Regions from separate parts of the Homo sapiens genome. Here region 2 is linked to region 1. Evidence: promoter capture Hi-C in 16 types of primary human blood cells and fetal thymus (Javierre and others, 2016). All regions are on one chromosome and are shown on one strand. Each heading gives the region's core, a stretch centred on a gene start or on the middle of the fragment in contact. The rest is flanking DNA. Distances are from core to core; before and after follow the strand shown.

What was found. Contacts are between HindIII fragments. The CHiCAGO score rates a contact against its expected background, and 5 or more counts as called.
Region 2: the fragment with the promoter of SLC7A6 here is called in contact with the fragment with the promoter of WWP2 in region 1 in 1 of 17 cell types (neutrophils); the score reaches 6.2 in neutrophils.

Annotation. Positions count from the first base shown.
Region 1 is chr16:69,758,674-69,765,058 of GRCh38, reverse strand. WWP2 (WW domain containing E3 ubiquitin protein ligase 2) reads right to left here and starts at 2,727. Exons shown (of 24, transcript NM_001270454.2): 1 at 2,668-2,727. RefSeq lists silencers at 2,251-2,300, 2,321-2,480, 2,501-2,640 and an enhancer at 2,344-2,922. The HindIII fragment of the contact is 2,162 bases long and covers 1,164-3,325 here.
Region 2 is chr16:68,261,436-68,267,820 of GRCh38, reverse strand. It overlaps SLC7A6 (solute carrier family 7 member 6), which reads right to left and starts at 3,295. Exons shown (of 11, transcript NM_003983.6): 1 at 3,245-3,295; 2 at 1,100-1,228. LOC124903704 (a long non-coding RNA gene) reads left to right here and starts at 3,364. Exons shown (of 3, transcript XR_007065096.1): 1 at 3,364-3,453; 2 at 4,407-4,634; 3 at 5,125-5,160. RefSeq lists an enhancer at 1,558-2,757 and a silencer at 3,130-3,409. The HindIII fragment of the contact is 19,556 bases long and covers 79-6,385 here.

The sequences.
Region 1 (6,385 bases), core at 1,478-3,977:
CTAATTTTTGTATTTTTTGTAGAGACAGGGTTTCACCATGTTGCCCAGGCTGGTCCCAAATTCCTGGGCTCAAGCAATCTATCCACCTTGACCTCCCAAAGTGCTGGAATTATAGGCATGAGCCACCATGTCTGACCAACTATTTATAATTACGTTGTATTTAACCCAATAAATCCAAAATGTTATCATACATGTTTATACATTATATGATCGTTTACTATAACATAAAAAGTATCAATGAGACATTTTACTTTTCTTCATGCTAAGTCTTCAAAATCCAGAATGTATTTTATGCTCACAGCATAGCTCCAGTGCTCAGCAGCCCCATGTGGCTAGTGTACACCATACTGGACTCTACAACAATGCCTGGCAAAGACAGAGTGGGTACTTATAAATATTCACTGAATGAAAGAATGTTTTCCCAGGAAGAGGAAGCTATGGTAGAGTACAGCGTTTTCTAAACTTCATTTACTCACATTCTACATTCACAACTTTTTCTGTGTGATCTTTTTCCTTAAAATGTTACACTTTTTATTCCTGAAAAATTATGTAAAAATAAAACTTTCAGTTGGGCATGGTGACTTACACCTGTAATTGCAACACTTTGAGAGGCCGAGGTGGGAGGATCGCTTGAGCCCCGGAGTTTGAAAACAGCCCGGGCAACATAGCAAAACCCCTGTCTCTACAAAAATTAGCCAGGCGAGGTGGCACCCACCTGTAGTCCCAGCTGTTTGGGAGGCAGACATGGGAGGATCACCCGAGCCCAGGCAGGTCAAGGTTACAGTGAGCCGTGATTGTGCCACTGCACTCCAGCCTGGGCAACAGAGTAAGATCCTGTCTCAAAATAAAATAAAAATAAAATTTTCTATTGTGTCAATAAATGAAAAAGAATGGATCTAAGGATTAAGGGTCTGGGCTTGAGTCCCTACTCATTTACTAGCTCTGAAATCTAAAGTAAGGACTTCATTAAGCCTCAGTCTCTTCATGTGATATAGGGACAATACTGACCATCCCAATTTCAAAGGGAAGGTTAAGTGAGATGTTGGTATACGCTCTTTGTAAATGGGAAAGTAATCATGAAGTGAAAGAGACTGAGAAGCCAATCCAAGCCTTTCTCTCGAGCCTGTTTTCATATGGACCAATGACACAGATAATCACAAGCTTCTCTGACAAGAAAAAGAGTAGAAGACTTGGGTTCAAATCCTTTGTCACCACTTACGCCGGTGTGACTTTTAGAAATGCATTTATTCACCAAATATTTATCAAGTGCTCACAACATGCCAGGCACTAGGCTAGCAGCCAAATAAAATATGAAACCTGCCCTTGAAGGATTTGCAATCTAGCAGGAAGAGGCCAGCAAACAAGAAAGAGCAATAAATTGTTTTAAAAAATCAAGTCGTCTCTCGTAAGTCTGTTTGTTCCCTGTGAAATGAGAATACATCTTCCCAACCTCACTCATAGGCGCTGCTGCAAAAACTAATTTTTAAATGTTTGTCAAATAACTCCAAAAACTTGAACTCATAATACATTAGGAAAGTACTTTTTCCTACTTGTAACCCAAAACGATGCTGGCTGCTGTGAATGTCCAGTTTGAACATTCGTTCCAGTTACACTGCACTCATGAAACTCCTTTTGCTTCTGCAAATTTTAGTAAACATGAGAAACAGGAAGATGAACAGGCTTTAACACAAGTATTCAATCTCAAAATCATGATCCAGGTCACAGTTCTAAGGAACATAACACAGACCTCTCAGGCACCCTACCTAGTTACAGTTCGTCAAGATAAGCAGTCACAAGATAAGCTAAGGGAAACTGAATAATTTAAACGGAAGAAAGAGAAAAGTCATAAAGCAGTCTAGGTAGACACTTCTCTGTCCAAGATTTCAGCAGTCACTATGTTGCTGAGGTAACGCTGGGCTAGGTCAACAGTGTAAGCTAAAAGCCATTTTACAGGCAAAGTGCCCACACTTATTTTTTTAATTTATTTTCTTTTTTTGTTTTTTAAAGCCTCGATGATGGCCCGTTCAGGGAAAATCTCAAAGAAAAATGAGCTGAAGGGCTAGGCTCCCAAGAAGTGGAAACCCTACCCACGCAGGACTAAGTGGGCGCGAGGGAAGCAAGACGATCAAGATTCTGTGATCCCTCCTGAAGTTTAAAAACTGAATGGGACCGTCATCAAAGTCTCGGGTAACAATCATTTCCAAACAGGAAGGAAGGGAGAGACTCTCAGAGGGGGTCCAGGCAGCATCTTTTTCCCTCTGGCTCCACGCCATAAACCCATTTTCAGGCACCCCCTTCCAGCTCAGTTCCAAGTCGCCCCTTCCCCTGGTCCCGATCCCTCCACAAAGATCGCTCCTCTCCATGCCTGGGAACCTAAGCTCCTCTCCCCTTCCGGGAGGACTCGCTCCAGCTGCACCCTTGGCGGCCGGGGCACCCATTTCGGAGCAACCCCCGCGCGGGCCGCGGCGCGCCCACCCCACTCGGGCGGGAGCCGGGACACCCCTCCTCGGAGGCCGGAACCGCCGCGCCAGGCCCCTCCCACAGGAAGCCGCCGCCCCCCGACGCCCGGGCCGCGCCGCCCCCGGCCCACCCCGCGCCGCCCGCCGCCCCCGGCCCGCCCCGTGCAGGCAGCCAGCCCACCGCGCCCCCCGCGCCAGCGCTCGCTACCTGCCGTGGCCACAGAAGCGGCGCCGAACTCCTCTCCTACTTCCGCCTTCCACCGCCCGCACTCGGGCCGGGTCACGTGACCGCGCGCGGTCACCTGACCCGGAAGAGGCTGGCCAGGCTCGCAGGTGCGGGCCACCTAGGCCTGGCCTGGGCACCTCTGGCCTCGAGGAGGCCTTTTTATCGTCTCTGTAGTTGAAAGTGGAAGGGTTTCTGCTCACCGGATGGTCCCAGGCAATCAAATAAATTGAGGGCTCACTGAATGCCACCTACTCTGCCCATCAACCTTATAGAGGCAGGGACAGGTACTAGCCCCATTTTACAGGTGAAACGAGACCTTCAGACTGTTAAGTCAGCAAATACTTAATTGAGCTCCTTTAGTAGGGTTGCCAGATAAAGTACAGGACACCCACTTAAATTTGAATTTCAGATAAACAACAGTGTAATATGTATGTCCCAAATACAGAATGGGACATATTTATACTAAAAAAAGTATTTTTTGATTATCTGAAGATCAAATTGAATTGAGTATCTGTATTTCTATTTCCTGGCAACCTTATGCCTATTATGTGCCAGGCACTGTTCTAAGATCCAGGACCACAAACATCTCAGCCTTTGTGGGGCATCTGTCCTTGTGACATGAAGCAAAAGTACAAAAGCTTAAAAACTCCTGCTTGGCTCCATAAAAAGCCCCTCCACACTAATCCAATCGCATTCCCTTAATCTACAACTACAGGGCACAGAGAACTTAATGAATTATAATCCAGGTAGGTAGGTAGGTAGGTAGGTGGATAGATAGATGATATTTTTTTTTTTTTTTTTGAGATGGAGCCTCGCTCTGTCGCCCAGGCTGGAGTGCAGTGGTGCAGTCTCAGCTGACTGCAACCTCCGTCTCGCCGGTTCATGCAATTCTCCTGCCTCAGCCTCCCGAGTAGCTGGGATTACAGGCGTGCACCACCACGCCTGGCTAATTTTTGCATTTTTAGTAGAGACAGGGTTCCTCCATGTTGACCAGTCTGGTCTCGAACACCTGACTTCAAATGATCCGCCCACCTTGGCCTCCCAAAGTGCTGGGATTACAGGCATGAACCACCGCACCTGGCAGAGAAATATTTTTTTTAAGAGATGGGTCTGGATAGGTTGCTTTGGCTGGGCTCGAACTCCCAGCTTCAAGCAGTCCTCTTGCTTCAGCCTCCCAAGTAGCTGAGACTACAGGCGAATGCCACTGTGCCTGCCCAATAACTTTATTTATTTATTTATTTATTTATTTATTTGCTTGCTTGAGACAGAGTTTCACTCTTGTAGCCCAGGCAGGAGTGCAGTGGCTCAATCTTGGCTCACTGCAACCTCTGCCTCCCAGGTTCAAGCAATTCTCCTTCCTCAGCCTCCTGAGTAGCTGGGACTACAGGCACCCACCACCATGCCTGGCTAATTTTTGTATTTTTAATAGAGATGGGGTTTCACCATGTTGGCCAGGCTGGTCTCAAACTCCTAACCTCAGATGATCCACCTGCCTTGGCCTCCCAAAGTGCTCAGATTATAGGCGTGAGCCAATGCGCCCGGCCTCCAAGAACATTTTAAATAGACATTCTTGACTGATGTTCTGGACAAGTTGAATGAAGGCTCAGTTTAATCACCATTGATTAAAATTAATACTAATGACGTAATTAGCCTCAAAGACTTGTACTAATCTGTTATTTTTGGGTCTTCGAATTGGGATGGATTCTATCATGCATACAAATTAAATTGGCTGGTGGGGCGTGGAGGCTCACGCCTGTAATCCCAGCACTTTGGGAGGCAGAGGCAGGTGGATTACCTGAGGTCGGGAGTTCGAAACCCACTTGGCCAACCTGGTGAAACCCCATCTCTACTAAAACTACAAAAAAAAAAAAAAAAAAGATTCGCCGGGCATGGTCCGGGTGCGGGTAATCCCAGGTACTCCAGAACCTGAGGCAGGAGAATTGCTTGAACCCGGGAGGCGGAGGTGGCAGTGAGCCATGATAACGCCTCTGCACTCCAGCCTGGGCGACAGAGTGAGACTCTGTATCTAAATAAATAAATAGGTTGAACACTTAGTCTCTACTTTTTGTAGTACCACTCCAAATCCAAGAGATTAACTTTCAAGGAGATACAGTCCTGTCTTTGTACATTAAACCCTATATTAGTCTCATTTATAAAACTACTATAACTAAAACTTCTCCAGTTCCATTGATGGCAGTTTTACTAATTCTGTTCTAGATAAATTAGAGACTATTTCCTTGACTTACTAGCATTTGTTGGTTTCGGTTTGTTTTCTTCTTTCATATTTCATTTTTTATCTTTTGTTGCTTTTTTTTAACAACCCTGCAGAAAAGATTTAGTGGCATCTGAGTAAGTGTTCACCAAAGGGGAGAAGGGACAAGCAAAGAGCACACACTGCACATTAAAAGAATAAAATCTGACAGGGTGCGGTGGCTGGCACCTGTAATCCCAGTACTTTGGGAGGCCAAGGCGGGCAGATCAGACTGTCAGGGGCTCGAGATCAGACTGGGCAACATGGTGAAAACCCATCTCTACAAAAAATACAAATATTAGCTGGGCATGGTGGCACACACCCGTAGTCCCAGCTAATCAGGAGCCTGAGGCTTGAGAATCGCTTGAACCTGGGAGGCGGAGGTTGCAGTGAGCCAAGATTGCACACTGGACTCCAGCCTGGATGACAGGGTGAGACTCTGTCTCAAAAAAAAAAAATTGATATGATAAACTAGAAAATGAGAAATAGCCTCCAGCCATACTCTGTTACGGCAGGTAGCACAGGCACGTTCTAGATAATGAAGAGACTGAGTGGTGAGAAAGGTTGAGCCAGGTGCAATGGCTCACGCCTGTAATTCTAGCACTTTGGGAGGCCAAGGCAGGTGGATCACCGTACATCAGGAGTTCGAGACCATCTGGCCAATATGGTGAAACCCCATCTGTACTAAAAATACAAAAATTAGCCAGGCGTGGTGGCGGGCACCCATAATCTCAGCTACACAGGAGGCTGAGGCAGGAGAATTGTTGAACCTGGGAGGCAGAGGTGGCAGTGAGCTGAGATCGCACCACTGTGCTCCAGCCTGGGCGACGAGAGCAAAACTCAGTCCCCTTCCCGCCACCCCAAAAAAAGAGAAAGACTGAATTTGGGTAATTGCTGAAAGGCAATATTCAGTAGCACTGAAGGATTTTTGGGGTAGGACAGATAAATGACAATTGAGGAATCCAGCTGGCGTGAAGACTTCATGAAGAAAGTTTGCATGAAGACCCAAGTCGACATTCAGCAAAATTCACCGGATCTTATAATCATAAAATTTCAGATTTGCAAGGAAACGTAGAAGTCACTAAATACACCTTCTGTTCAATTCAGCAAGGAATTATTTGCTACCAAATTATGTGTGTTGCTTAGGGAGGTGGGGTGAGACTATTAAGACAAATTAGACAGACTCTGGCCCCACGTTGCTCAAAATGAAGTGAAGGCACATAAGCAGCAGTCAGTATAACAGAATGGATAATTAGGTGGCTCAGGGACAGCACCGTGTCTCACACCTGTAATCCCAGCACTTTGGGAGGCCAAGGCTAAAGGACTGCTTGAACCTGGGAGTTTCAGACCAGCCTGGGCAACATGATGAGACTCTCATCTCTACAAAAGTAAAAATGAAAAAACTAGCTGGGCATGGTGGTGTGGGCCTGTGGTGCCAGCTACTCGAGA
Region 2 (6,385 bases), core at 2,046-4,545, 1.5 Mb after region 1:
GGTTGGGGGTAGGGCTCAAAGTCCCAACCCTCTAATCCTGACTTGGTCTTTCCAGTGACCAGCCCCCATCCTGAAGCTTTCTAGGGGCTGCCAGCCACCAGCCATCAGCATACAAAAAGACATTACTTTGATCTTTCTAAGTATTTTAGGAGTTGTATGCTAGGAAACGGGCTGAAGACCAAAAAATATTTTGCTATATCACAGAGAAATACATCAAAATCTTTTTATTCCCCCCTCTGGTTGAATCAAAATCTTAACTATGGTGAAAACACAGAGGACTTTTTCTTATAAAACTCTCTGAGTTATGGCCAGGCGCGGTGTCTCACACCTGTAATCCCAGCATTTTGGGAGGCTGAGGCGGGTGGATCGCCTGAGGTCAGGAGTTCGGGACCAGCCTGGCCAACATAGTGAAACCCTATCTCTGCTAAAAATACAAAAAATTGTCCGGGCATGGTGGTGGGCACCTGTAATCCCAGTTACTCGGGAGGTTGAGGCATGAGAATCACTTGAACCCGGGAGGTGGAGGTTACAGTGAGCCAAGATCGCACCATTGCACTCCGCCAGGGCAATGAGAGCGAAACTCCTTCTCAAAAAAAAAAAAAAAAAAAAAAAAATCCACCACAATTGGGAGGCTGAGACGGGCAGATTGCCTGAGCTCAGGAGTTCGTGACCAGCCTGGCCAACATGGTAAAGCCCCGTCTCTACTAAAAATACAATAATTAGCTGGGCATGGTGGCGGGCGCCTGTAATCCCAGCTACTTGGGAGGCTGAGGCAGGAGAATCGCTTGAATCCAGGAGGCAGAGGTTGCAGTGAGCAGAGATTGCGCCACCACACCCCAGCCTGGGTGACAGAGTGAGACACTGTCTCCAAAAAAAAAGAAAAAACCCACCACAATTACTCTTTATAAAGAATTGTAATATAAATAAATGTATAATTTATTTTTATAATAAATTACAGTGTTATTTAATATGTAATACTAAAGAGTTGTTAATTATGTGTAAGCCATTCTGTTTACTAGTATTGTATTCACACTGTATACAAGTAAAAACTCTTTGTAAATCACACAAACAAAAGAAAAGACAGCGCAACAATATTCACCTGTCAAGAAATACGCGAACATCACACTTTCATAAGCCACCTCCTCATAAATGGGTCCAGTACTGAGAAGGAAATGAAGTCCCCTGCAGCAAGGCCTAATTCCACTTGTCTGCCTCGGCCACATAAACTCTGCAACAAAGAGTGGGAGGGAACTGATCAAAAAATGAACTCTTTTAACCTGAGAAAGCTGATTTAAATATATATATATATGTAATTATTTTTAATTAACCAAGAAAGCAGCAGAATGATATTTCCTTGTAAAATCTAAATTTTACATGCCCGGCAGGGGCAGTCCTAATTACTAGCAGGTTCCATGACACCCACAGGGTGGGTATAACTGAAGTAGCCAGCCCAAACCTGTCAGAGAACTGGCCTTGTCACATTAAATCATGTAAGTCTAGGCAGCTCTGGGGCCCCAGGTCCCGTGGGCACCGTTTACATAACTTTTTTTCTTTTTTTTTGGAGATGGAGTCTCGCTCTGTTGCCCAGGCTAGAGTGCAATGGCGCAATCTTGGCTCACTGCAACCTCCGCCTCCCGGGTTCAAGCCATTCTCCTGCCTCAGCCTCCCGAGTAGGTGGGACTACAGGTGCCCACCACCACACCTGGCTCAATTTTTGTATTTTTAGTAGAGACGGGATTTCACCATGTTAGCCAGGATGGTCTCGATCTCCTGACCCCGTGATCCGCCTGCCTCGGCCTCCCAAAGTGCTGGGATTACAGGACTGAGCCACCGCGCCCGGCCTGCATAACTTTTTTAGAAACTAATATACATCCAAGAAATTACAGCAGGAAGCACAAAGGTCAGGAAATTTCTTCTACTAAGAAGTTCCAGGGAGATGGGGATCATAAAACCGGTATATGCAATAAAAATACATCCACGGCCAAATAGGGAAGGAGGACAAGGAGAGGAAGAGAGGAGAAAATCAGGCTGGTGGTTTTCCACACACTTGCCAGGAAAATAAACTCCAGTGTAACGACTTGAATAACGATCTGAGATCAAAGTTGGGAAGCAAAAGCCGTCTGCGCAGCACACATGGGACCTGAGTAATGCAGGCAGCCTGGGCAGGTCCCCAAAAGGCCTCACCGCCACCAAAAAGAGGTGGAACTGATATAAGGAAGTACTCACAGCCTTTCAAGTCTGCTCCTCCCAGATCTGAAATCTGGGAGCAGTTCTGAGAGACAAGCCCCGGATGGCTGGGCACTGAACAGCCGCCCTGCGAGATGAGCTGCCCTGGCTTTTTCCCCTATCAAGGGCAGAGACTGAATTCTTTTTAACTGTGTCACCAAGCCCAGGGCATACAAGAGGTACTCAAAAACGTGTTCGCCGACACCCTGATTCCTATTTATACTGACCATTACACAACATGTTTGCTTAGAGCCCAGCAAAGAATTTTCAGAATGTTTCACGTCTATCTCCCCACATTCAGGAGAGATAGTCACACAAGATGACAGGCTATAGGGACGCTCAAAAGAGCCATAATCACCAGGGGCACGCGGGTTCCCCAGCGCCAGCAGCCCAACGCTCCAGGCTCCAGCACGCCACAAAACCTTGCGGCATTCTCTAAAGTAAAAGGACTGATTTTAAAATGATAATCGTCATTCTTGCGACAGCCCCAGGAAGCCTGGCTCCTGAGGTCCTGAGCCCGCGTCTTTCTTTGCCCCACCGCGGCCGCCACACAGCACAGGTTCTCCGTCCTGCAGTCGGAGGCGCAGTCACAGCCCCACTCAGGGTCACCGTCGCACAGTCTCACGCTCGCGGCGCGGCCCGCGCACTCAGCGTCCCGGTCACCCTCGCACCTGGGGTTTCCCTCTCCACACACACCCCCGGTCTCCCTCACACTCGCCGCGTCGCCAGCACACCCCAAGACTGGCTCCCTCGCGGTCACCATCAGCCTCCGGGGCTCGCACCCATACAGCGTTTCTCCCACACTCGGCCCTCACGCTCGAGGTCCCTCTCTCCTCGTGGCGCCCCCCCTCACCCGCAGCGCCTCTCGCGCGGCCCCGATCGGCCAGCCCCGCGCTGTTTCTGGGCCGCATCCCGCTCCCGACGGCGGCAGCGAAGACCCACAGGGTTCGGCTCCCACAGAACGCGGCCCAGCCCCGGCCCCGCTCCCGGCGCGCCCGCCCATGGCCCAGCCCGTTACCTCCCAGTGGCCCGGCGCCGCCAGGATGCTCGGTCGCGCCGCCGCCGCCGCGGCAGCTCAGGCCCCGCCCCGCCACGTCACCCGCCGCCGGATCGCGACAGCGCGCGCCGCGTCGGGACACAGTTCCGTGCGGGGCCAGCTGGCGGCGGCGCTTCCGGGCCCCCGTGGCCGCCACGGCCTGGCCGGTACGGGGTCCGCCGGCCCAGAACGTGAGCGTGGACGCCAGACAGCCCCCAGCTGCCTCGTCAGGGCTCGAGCAGCCCGTGAACTGGGCCCGGCCACGCTCGCCGCCCTGGAGTTAGATGGGGCCTCCGAGGGCGTCCACAGCGGACATTCCCGCGGGGAGCTCTCATCGGCCCCCGCACCCCGTTCCTATCTCGCACTTGACCTGGGCCCGACGCCCAGGGCGCCCCCTACAGCTCACACAGGGATCCAAACGGCCTCCGCCGCCGGGCCACTGCCACTCGCAGTCTAGGAACCCCAGGAAGACACACACTCTGGGGACTTGTCCAAACACACGCACAGCTCAGACTCGTAGCCCTTGAGGCCCCCGCACCCACAAAGAAACTGCAGGCTCCCTTTGCCAACCCCAGGCCTCCCTGGGGCTCTGTCCTCATCTTCCCAAGAGGGCTGCCACCCCTCTTGGGGGAGCTGCACCTCCTGCCCCCCCTCTTGGGGGAGCTGCACCTCCTGCCCCCTTCCCCTCCCTCTGTTTGCTCCTCCATCTTTCTCTCGAGTTCCTTTTCCTCTGGTGGCTCTGGGGCTCTCTGTCTAGAGCCTCCTGACCTCATGGGCGCCTGAGCCCTCCTCCGAAATTTCCTGTCCACACCTCAAGCACTGACTTTCTCCAGGGCCCTGGAATCTTTTCCCCCAGCCTTATGACCACAAGTACACGTCCTCTGGTTCCAGACCATACCCAAGACCCTGCTCCCTGCCACCCAGTGACAGGGACCCAGCCAGAGATGGGTAGCACCTCAGACCCTTCCTCCCCACTCCTCCCACGGCCTATACCTCGTTTTCTTCTCCCCAGCCACAACGGCTTCTCAATCCCTATCCTGCTCCCCTTACCCCATCTCCACAGAGTAGGGGATGCTCCTAGAATACAGATTGCGATGACTTTGTATCTCCCCTGCCTAAAACCCTTCCATTCTCCTCTCTGCAGGCCTGGGATGACAATACTTGAGGAATCCTCGCTGGTGCTGCCCTCCTGCCCTCTGCTTGGAACCCCTCCCCTAAGTGTCAGTGAGTGGACGTATATATTTGGATCAATCGAGTTGCACCCTTTGCCTCCCAGATCAGTTCCTCCGGCCTCCCTGGCTGAGCAGAAGGACAGCTCTGGACACTTGTGTCAGCACCCAGCCCACGTGTCCCTGCCACAGCTTCATATAAGGTATGCCGGCTCAGCCGGGCCTGGTGGCTCACGCCTGTAATCCTACAACTTTGGGAGGCTGAGGCAGGCAGATCACCTTGAGGTCAGGAGTTCGAGACCAGCCTGACCAACATGGAGAAACCCCGTCTCTACTAAAAATACAAAATTAGCCGAGTGTGGTGGCACATGCCTGTAATCGCAGCTACTCAGGAGGCTGAGGCAGGAGAATCGCTTTAACCCAGGAGGCAGAGGTTGCAGTAAGCCGAGATCGCGCCATTGCACTCCAGCCTGGGCAATAAGAGCGAAAGTCTATCTCAAAAAAAAAAAAAAAAAAACACCATATGCCAGCTCCGTCTGGCTTTGCAGTCTCATACCCAGTTACGTAGCCCATCAGCTGAAAGCCCAATGTACACCACACCCTGAATCAGATGTTCTCCAACACCATCAGTGTTCCTCAGGACCACCCTGCAGGATACATTTATTTGTAACCATTCTTTTCTTTTGCTTTTAGAGATCTTGCTGTTGCCCAGGCTGGAGTGCAATGGCTATTCACAGGTGTGATCATAGCTCACTGCAGCCTCGAACTCCTGGTTTCAAGCGATCTTCCTGCCTCAGCTTCCTACTTGGGACTACAGATTTATTTCATCTTTTTTTTTTTTTTTGAGATGTATCTCGCTCTGTCTTGCTCAGGCTGGAGTGCAGTGGTGCCATCTTGGCTCACTGCAGCCTCCGCCTCCCAGGTTCCAGTGATTCTCCTGTCTCGGCCTCCAGAGTAGCTAGGACCACAAGGCATGTGCCACCACACCTGACTAATTTTGTATTTTTAGTAGATATGGGGTTTCACCATGTTGGCCAGGCTGGTCTTGAACTCCTGACCTCATGTGATCCACCCTCCTTGGCCTCCCAAAGTGCTGGGCTCACAGGCGTGAACCATGGCGCCCGGCCTATTTCACCTTTAGAGATAAAGTCTTGCCCAGGCTGGTCTCAAACTCCTGGGCTCAAGCGATCCTCCCACCTTAGCCTCCTGAGTAGGTGGAACTATAAGCGTGAGCCAATGCACCCAGATGTCCCCATTCTTTGGATGAGGAAACTGAGGGTCAGGAGGCTCCCCAGACAACTTGGCTGGAGCTAGTAGAGCTGAGATTTGAACCCTAGTATGCTGATCCTTAAGCCTCCTCTGATTCCATGCCCTTTCTCTCTGCAGCTATGAAACTGAGGGTGATGGTGAAGCTAAAATGGGTCAGGGATGAGTGGGGTGCCATGAGTAGGGGGGTGTCAGGGCCAAGCAGGGAGTCAGGTTGGGCAGGGCCTGGGGTGAAGCTCCCTTTCATGTTGTCATCCTTTTACTGAGGCCAGAGCTGCAGCTGGACCCCAGTATTTTTACCACAGGCATTTTTACCCCCACTCTGGGTCACCTCGTCCTTCCAGGTTTGGCTAACAGGTGGTTCAGTGAGAGGGTTCAGGGCGCCCTCTTGTGGCCCCTGGTGTATCAAAGTCTGGCGCCCCAGCTTGTGGGGCTGAGTTAAGACAGAACTGGGTACCGGCTGGGCTCTGGACTACAAAATTCAGGCTGGGACCCTATCCCCTATCCATGTTTCCTTGGCTCTGTCTCTGTTTCTGTCTTTGTCCATACCAGTCTCAGCCTAGTAGTCTCTTTTCCTCCCTTGATCTCTCTCATCTGTACCTCCCCAGGGGTACAGATGGCAGGCTGATGAGCTGAAGATGCAAAGAAGGGTGGCATCCTAAAAAGAACTCTAGGTTCAAAGGATGCT